Linked DNA regions of Homo sapiens: all the other regions are linked to region 3. The links are contacts of gene promoters, found by promoter capture Hi-C in blood cells and fetal thymus (Javierre and others, 2016). All regions are on one chromosome and are shown on one strand. The core of a region is centred on a gene start or on the middle of the fragment in contact, and the rest is flanking DNA. Distances in the headings are between cores, read along the strand shown. Region 1 has its middle 6.1 kb from the start of BHLHE23. Region 2 overlaps OSBPL2 (oxysterol binding protein like 2). Region 3 holds the start of SLCO4A1-AS1 (SLCO4A1 antisense RNA 1).

The links. Contacts are between HindIII fragments. The CHiCAGO score rates a contact against its expected background, and 5 or more counts as called.
Region 1: a fragment that was not itself captured here is called in contact with the fragment with the promoter of SLCO4A1-AS1 in region 3 in 1 of 17 cell types (non-activated CD4 T cells); the score reaches 5.4 in non-activated CD4 T cells.
Region 2: a contact is called between a fragment that was not itself captured here and the fragment with the promoter of SLCO4A1-AS1 in region 3, in 1 of 17 cell types (M0 macrophages). The highest score is 5.5, in M0 macrophages.

Annotation. Positions count from the first base shown.
Region 1 is chr20:63,011,717-63,014,416 of GRCh38, forward strand. No RefSeq gene overlaps it. Among named protein-coding and RNA genes, the nearest start is that of BHLHE23, 6.1 kb to the left of the region's middle. RefSeq lists an enhancer at 1,222-1,371. The HindIII fragment of the contact is 240 bases long and covers 1,209-1,448 here.
Region 2 is chr20:62,293,437-62,296,136 of GRCh38, forward strand. OSBPL2 (oxysterol binding protein like 2) reads left to right here. Exons shown (of 14, transcript NM_144498.4): 14 at 349-2,700. The coding sequence ends at 451. Among named protein-coding and RNA genes, the nearest start is that of ADRM1, 8.2 kb to the right of the region's middle. The HindIII fragment of the contact is 1,399 bases long and covers 654-2,052 here.
Region 3 is chr20:62,665,206-62,667,905 of GRCh38, forward strand. SLCO4A1-AS1 (SLCO4A1 antisense RNA 1) reads right to left here and starts at 1,416. Exons shown (of 4, transcript NR_024470.1): 1 at 1,180-1,416; 2 at 655-805; 3 at 1-292. SLCO4A1 (solute carrier organic anion transporter family member 4A1) reads left to right here. Exons shown (of 12, transcript NM_016354.4): 7 at 1,175-1,370; 8 at 2,540-2,700. The HindIII fragment of the contact is 12,915 bases long and covers 1-2,411 here.

The sequences.
Region 1 (2,700 bases), core at 79-2,578, 350 kb after region 3:
ATAAAGCCCCACAGGCCAACGGAACACAAGAGACTGATCCCGTTTATTCCCGTGAGCCAGTCAGTGACCTCTGATTCCTGTTCCTAAGAAATGAGAGGGATGGGGGGCATAAATACCTGGATTGGCATTCTACTTTTAGGCACAAGTTGGAATCATGCAGAGAGTGATTTATTTACTGAGTAGGCACAGACTTTAGCCTGTCTACATAATCACATAAACGGTTGGGTATGTGGAGAATTGCCACTTTCCTCCACCTCTGGGTTGCCCTGGCATAGTCAACTGGCCAGCCTAAGTCTGTGGGGATTTTACGTTCCAGACCATTACCCAGGCTATGAGAGCTTTAGAGCTCACGTCTCTGCCATTGATGAGCTGTCAGTCAGTCCTCTATTGGCTTGGTTCCAACAGCTGCCCAGTTCTTGGAAAGCCTTTCTGTTTAGCTAGTTTACTTGGAATGATTTTATTTATTTTGCTTTGCTATTGTAGAATATATTGCGGTTGTACTCTTTGTGTAGGAATGCATGACAAGCTCACTCAACACTTTCTTCAGTTGGACATTTTTTTGTTTTTTTTTTGTTTTTTTTTGAGACGGAGTCTTTCTCTGTAGCCCAGGCTGGAGTGCAGTGGCATGATCTTGGCTCACTGCAACCTCCACCTTCTGGGTTCAAGTGATTCTCCTGCCTCAGCCTCTTGAGTAGCTGGGATTACAGGCGCACACCACCATGCCTAGCTAATTTTGTATTTTTAGTAGAGACGGGGTTTCTCCATGTTGGTCAGGCTGGTCTTGAACTCCTGACCTCAGATGATCCACCCGCCTCAGCCTTCCAAAGTGCTGGGATTACAGGTGTGAACCACCATGCCCATCCTGTTTTTCCTTCTTAAATGAGACAAGAGGGATAGAGAATGGGGCTGTGTGTTTCCCTTCCCAACATAAAAGACTGGAGGGAGCTGGAGTTGATACTTCCCTTCCTCCAGGTTGGTTAGACTCTGATTAAACTCTGGTACGTTAAAAATAGTTTCTCTTGAGGGCAGAGGAAGAACAGAATGCTCTGGCATATTTCGAAAGTGCTACTTCTCCCCTCCCCTTGTCCAAAGCACAAGGGGATTTTTCTCTGGTATTTACCTGGGGGATCTGGTAGAGTTTGTGCAGGTAAAACTCACAGAAGTGTGGCCTCCACCCTAAGACTGGGCCCTGGAGTTTTTAACTGTCAAGCTTGGCCACACAGCCTCCAGCAATCTGCCAGTGACAGTTTAGGTTTTCCCAACCTGGCAGTGGTTCCCAGGGAGGTGTCTGCTCTGCAGAATTGGGATTCTCTGCATCTGTCTGTCGTCTCTACAACTTTTTTGGGCAGTGGTTTGCCCTGTGACCTCATCATCTGTTGAATATAAGAAATATTATTGACTTTCAGTTTGCTCACGTTTTGTTCTTGTGAAAAGATTGATTGTTTCCAAGCTTCTCACACAGTGGACTAGAAATTGATTCATTTCATTTATCCTTTTTGGGTTTGTGGGGTTCTTGAATTTGTGACTTGATGATTTTGATTACTTTTAGAAATTTCCTGGCTATTAACTCTGGAGTATTGCTTCAACCTCATGTTCTCTCATCTCCTCTCTGGGATCCAGTTACAAATATATTGGTCCTTCTTCCTGAATCCTTTGTGTATCTTAACCTGTCACCTGTATTTTCCATTTGTATTATCCATACTTCATTCTGAATATTTTCTACTGACCTATTTTCCACTTCACTAATTCTCTCTTCAGCTGAATTTGCTATTAAAGCCACTAAGTTTATAATTTAAGTGATTTTATTTTTCAGTGCTAGAATTTTCATTTGGTTTTTCTAGGTTTTTTTTTTTTTTTTTGCTGAAATTCTAAATTCCACCTCTATTTCTGCAAATGCTGTAAGCACAGTTTTGTTCCAGTCTCTGTCTCGCGACTCCAGTGTCTGGACTGGTAGATCTTCTGCCTATGGTCTCTGCTGCTTTCATTCTTGCTGATTTGTTTTTTCAATTGTCTAGAATTTTTATTGTGGACTGAACATTGTATTTGTAAAATTATTTTGTAGAAATCATTTGAGGTCTATTTTATTTTCCTCCAGAGAGGGTTTATGTTTGCATCTGCGAGACATGGGGGCACTAGGGGTCCTGGATCATCTTACTCTAGTTTCAGGGATTGAAATCATTTCAAGATGATTACAGTTTAGGTTTTCCTACCCTGGCAGTGGTGCAAAAGGCCCTGAGTTGCTGCAAGAGCCGGTCTCCTTCTATCCACCCCTATGTCTAGGGTGCGGTTATTTGTTGTCCCAACTCAAAATGGTGGGGGTCGGGGGGATGTTCGCCAACTCCCCACTCTCAGGTGGGCTGAATCTCTCGCTGTCTGGCTCCTCAGTGGGCTGTGAGCTATCTGAAGCAGCAAATGCTTTGGGGGAAAAGTGAGCGTCCCGAAGGCTTTTTTCACTCTGGATCTTTGTCTTTCTGGGATTTTGTTTGTTTGCATTCCAAGCAAATATTTTTAACATTTTGCTCAGCTTTTGTAGTCACCATCAGAAAAGTGATGGGTCCAGATTAACTAGTCCCTAATAACCAGAAACTGGAAGTCTGATGGTTGTTTTCAGTCTTGAACAACATTGATTCTGCGGTGACCAGTTTAGAGTTCATGCAATAGACCTTCCTCCCCCTTGTAAAATCATCACTATTTCAGCTA
Region 2 (2,700 bases), core at 103-2,602, 370 kb before region 3:
ACATGTGAACAGTGTAACTGCTTTTGCCTTGAAAAGGGAGAGGCATTATTTAGGCTCCAGTAACTTCTCTGATAAGGGCCCAGTGTGAGGATTTTGTGTTGAGTTAAACCCTCAAGATTTTGTTGGGAAGTGAAATTGACACGGGTGGCTGGATATCTTTAGGTTCCAGCATTCACATGACCACGTGATCAATAATTCTCCGTTGAAGTTGTTACGCTGGGCTGCATTTTAAAACCCACGTTACCGTGATGGTGCTGAGTTGGGGGAACACACTCCTGCACCCAGAACAGGGCTGCGTTTTCCTTTTGGGCTGAGCATCTTCTGACCCCCCTCCCTTGTATCCGGCAGGTGGTTCTACCCAGGCAATAACCCCTACACTGGGACCCCCGACTGGTTGTATGCAGGGGATTACTTTGAGCGGAATTTCTCCGACTGCCCAGATATCTACTGAGGGCCTGGAGGGGCCTGGGGCCCGGGACCGGAGGCTGACGAGGCTGGACTTCCTCGAGTGGCCACTGTGAGCCTCGTCACAGCAGAAACCAACTTTTCTAACGACTGAGTTCGCGGAGATAGCATCATCCCTGATCAAGGATGTAATTCTAATTAACTGTTGATTGCCAAACATTTCACTCTGCTGTGCCGTCTCTTCATAAAGCTTCACTTGGGATCATCGTCTTCATTAAGGTTTCAACAGGGAAATTCTTCACGGCGCCCTTTTATGTGGCAGAAATCAGCTGGGGCTTGTTTAGCTTCCAGCACACTCTCAGTCATAGCATGTGTAGCTAAAGGAAGTAATGGGAAGGGGTTCATGTTCTCTTTATAATGCAGTGGCAAAAGGTTCTGAAAGCCTTTTAAACTCGAACCAGTGGGGGAAAGATGGATCTTGAAGCTAATCCTGCAGAGAGTTTTATAGAGGCCAGGGATTGCCTTCTAAATTATGATAAAACAGAAGTGAAGAGTTTCAGAGCATCAGATTGAGTGAAAAGTTGTCAGATTCTGTATTTTTTAACAATCTTCAATAATGTAAAGATTACTTTTAAAATATTTAAGTTAAAACTACTTGAATAGTATTTTGCTGAAGAGCAAGATATGCATTAATCACCGGTTTTATACTGTCCAAAATGAAGCATCCCCGTGACAAACCAGAGTGGGCAGAAGCATCGAGAGCGTGACAGGAAATCCCAAGACTGCTTCCGCCTCAGAGGCGTCCCGGCTGCGATTCGCTGCCCTGTTGTCAGTGAGGCCTGGCTGTCACCGCACACCGCGTCCGTGTCTCCAGGGGGTTCCTTTCTTCTCACACGTCGCGTGTACCCATAGCACTCTTGTGTTTCTGTTTTTCCCAGTATGCATGTTTAAAATAGAAGTGACAAGAATCACATCCGGTTGTGTCCTGTGGGAGGGTCAGAGGCAGAATCTACTTACAGTGGTGTAATTAAAGTTATTTAACCAAAAATAGGTATGTGTCCATCTCAGCATTCACCTTTATCAAGTGACTGATTTTTTTTTCTTTTCTTTCCTTTTTTTTTTTTTTTTGAGACGGAGTTTCACTCTTGTTGCCCAGGCTGGAGTGCAATGGCATGATCTCGGCTCACCGCAACCTCCGCCTCCCGGGTTCAAGCGATTCTCCTGCCTCAGCCTCCCAAGTAGCTGGGATTACAGGCACGCGCCACCACACCTGGCTGATTTTGTATTTTTAGTAGACACGGGTTTTCACCATGTTGGTCAGGCTGGTCTCAAACTCCCGACCTCAAGTAGTCTGCCTGCCTCAACCTCCCAAAGTGCTGGGATTACAGGCGTGAGCCACTGCGCCTGGCCGTGACTGATTTTTTTTCATGTAGAATTGTCAACACGAGAGATCACAGTGGAGCACTTTGAAAGACCGTCGGTTGTGTGCACGCACGCACACACTCATGCACACGCTGACACGCGGTTGCATGGAGTCCAGGTTACTCAGGCCGGCACTTCTGAGTGACAGGTGCCACCTGCGTGTGTCTTGGCGTCCACATCACACCTGTGACGGAAGCACTTCTGGAAGTGAACACTCGTTTTGAAAGCTTGATTTTGTAGCTTTGGAAGCTGGAAGCGATGGTGTTTGGTGCCGAGTCCTGTGTCATCCTCGGGGCCTATGAGCTCCGTACCAGCCACTCAAAAGTGTCTGAACAGAACCGCTCCGTGACTGGTAGCTGGGTCTGAGGATTCAGGATTGTGGCGTTATTCAAAGAGGAGACTTTGAAATTCCCCGATGGCTGGAATGTGGAGCCCAGGTGCCTCTGGTGGAGGGTCATCTGCTTTTCCAGACTGTGGTTGTGAACCGGCTCCTTCTCCAAGAAAGGTTGCAAGCTGAGAACATCCAGAGGTGAGACTCAGACACATTGAAAGTGACTGCATTTAGGGAGGTTTAACGAGTTCTTACTGATCATTCCACTTGTTACTGGTTAAGATAATTTGCCCACGGGTTTGTTTCCAAGTCCTCTTCTAGGACCAGGCTCCTGGTATTTCAGGGGCTGGTTGGCTGCACAGACAGCCCCTCTTCTGCTGTCCTTGAGGACAGACACCAAACCAGAGGTGGAGGAAGAACGGTAGGAAGGCTGATGGCAAAAGCGGCTGTGTGTCGAGGTTATTTTAACTTTTTACTACTTTTTGTTACTGTTTCTGCAAATGCTAACACATAAACCATGACCTAACTTTTGTCACCTTGGA
Region 3 (2,700 bases), core at 166-2,665:
CCCCCGCTGCCAGAGCAGGTGTGGAGAGCGCCACGGGGGCTGAGCGACTCTGTCCACAGGCCGGGAGAGTGGTGGTCCTGCCCTCTTTGTGGGACATGCTCCGTAGGTGGAAGGGTCCACGGTGGGCTCCACCCCCTAGCCACCTAGTCTTGGCTTCTGTGACTTGGTGCAGGAAGGGTTTGGACCTGGCTGTTCCATGAGCCAGGCACTGGTGCCTCAGGACCTCCTGGAACAGTGCAGCTGGGGGTTTCTCGGTGCCAGAGGCAGGCTGGCCTTCCCAGGCTGGGCAGGTCTGCAGAAAGTGGGGACCCCTCCTCAGAGCTGCTCCTCCTGCCAGCGTTCACAGAGTACCCTGGGCCATGGCAGAGGTGCCAGGCATGTGGGCCACCACCGCCAATCTACCGCGCTCTACCCTTCCAGGGTCCACTATCTGGACAGGAAGAGGGCATCAGATGAGGGCTCCCCTCCCTCCCCCACAGGCCCATCCTGGCCTGGCCCCTCTGGGCTGACCTCACAAGCCCACATTCCCACACTCAACAGCCCCCCAGAGGTCAGCTCTACTGCCCCTTGGAGAGCCTCCCCACCTGTCCCCCCAAATCTGTCCCCTCCCCACCTGTCCCCCCAAACCTGTCCCCTCTCCACCTGTCCCCTCACCTGTGCCCTCCTCACTTGTCAGCCCAGAAGCTAGATGCCAGCTAATCGCAATTTTTTACTGTTGGTGGCCACTCAGGCTTCGACAAATGTCCTTGTCACAGCCTGCAGGGACTCGGCAGAGGCCCCTGGGGGAGGAGGGGGTGTGGCTGCCCTGGAGGGGGGTCAGTGGAGGAGTCATTGGCTTCCCACTGGGGCAGGGGCCGCTGACCTTGGAGCACTCTGGGCTCTCCTCCTCCCCCCGCCCCGCCCCGCCCCCCCGCTCCCCCTTCCCCTTCCCCTTCCCCTTCCCCTTCCCCTCTGAGGCATCCCCGCTGTGGGCTCTGGACAGAGGTCCCTCCTAGGGCTCTATCAGCGCAACAGCTAAGCACTCAGGTGTGGTGTTGAGTGCTGCCATGCAGGCAGGAATTGATCCCTCTATGCCTCAGTTTCCCCACCTGTAAAGTGGACCCGGCTGATCCACCACCCTCTCCCACCACGGCCCCCTGCCTGAGTCCCTGGCTGAATCCCTCCCTCTCCCCAGGGTACCTGGTGGTGCCAGCGGGTGGTGGCGGCACCTTCCTGGGCGGCTTCTTTGTGAACAAGCTCAGGCTCCGGGGCTCCGCGGTCATCAAGTTCTGCCTGTTCTGCACCGTTGTCAGCCTGCTGGGCATCCTCGTCTTCTCACTGCACTGCCCCAGTGTGCCCATGGCGGGCGTCACAGCCAGCTACGGCGGGAGGTGAGGGCCAGATGGCACCTGGGTACGCGTCGGGGCCCCAAGCACCCGCGGTCCCTGGGCATGGAGGAGGAGTGGTGCAGCACTTGGGAGAGGTGGTTTTGAAAAGGGCTACGTCACAGGACAGCGGCAAGGGCAACACCCGCTCAGCAGGGCACCCGGCAGCATCCACGTGAAAAGGCACCATGCCAGCCCCCAGCAGTGCCTGCGCTTGGGTCCCGGCTGTGCCCCCGGGCAGTCATATGCCTCTCTGGGCCTCAGCACTCTGCTCTGTAGCTGTGTCAAATGGAACAACAGCCCTAGTGTTCGGGGTCCTTGAGGCTGGTCTCTCGGTGACATAAAAAGTGTCCCAGGATGTGCTCCTGGAGTTGCCATGTGCTGGGAGTGGGAGGGACACCTGCTGGTCAGGTGGCAATTAGGGAATATCCAAAATACACGTAGGTAGCCTGCACCTCGGCCCTGCCCTGCGGGCCCCGGGAGTGCACCTGCAGGTGCCGTGCAAGGCCGAGAAGCACAAAGCAGCCGTTGTGGCATTATCGGAACCTAAGAGTCATCAGGGTGGACGGGGTCACTACGCTGTCCTCACAACAGAGGCCCTGCCCACAAAGGAGTGGAGGAAGCTCATCCTGGGCCACTGCCAAGACATACTGTGAAGTGGGAAAAAGGAAGGAGTTGGACAATGGGCGCAGTGTGCTCTGATTCAAGTGAGAAGTGCAGATGTTTGTGACTGCCGAGGGGCGTGTACGTGCAGACGACCCCTGCAAATGCACAGCCGGCCTGTGGCTGGAGAACCGAGGACTGGGGTGGGGCTGGGGCCACGAGGCTGCCTTTGTGTACTTGGCGCTTTTTCTTTCCTAATGTTTGTATTTGATCCATATGAATGTGTTGCCTGTCCAAAAACAAATGAACTAGGGAAAGGGGCTGTGCATCAGGCGGACGGTGCTGGGGGGCATGGGTGTGCCTTCCTTGCGTGAGGAGGAAAAACCATTCTATCACCAGAAGGCAGTGCCCAGTGTGAGTGCCCAGCGTGCTGGGGGCGGTGCAAGCTTGGCAAGTTTGTAGACCCGAAATGCAGGCTGCATGGGGACGAGCCCCATGGCTGACCCTGTGCCTGCTGGGCGCCAGCATGGCTCTGGCCTGGACCCTACCACTCGCTTGTCCCCCCTCTGCAGCCTCCTGCCCGAAGGCCACCTGAACCTAACGGCTCCCTGCAACGCTGCCTGCAGCTGCCAGCCAGAACACTACAGCCCTGTGTGCGGCTCGGACGGCCTCATGTACTTCTCACTGTGCCACGCAGGGTGCCCTGCAGCCACGGAGACGAATGTGGACGGCC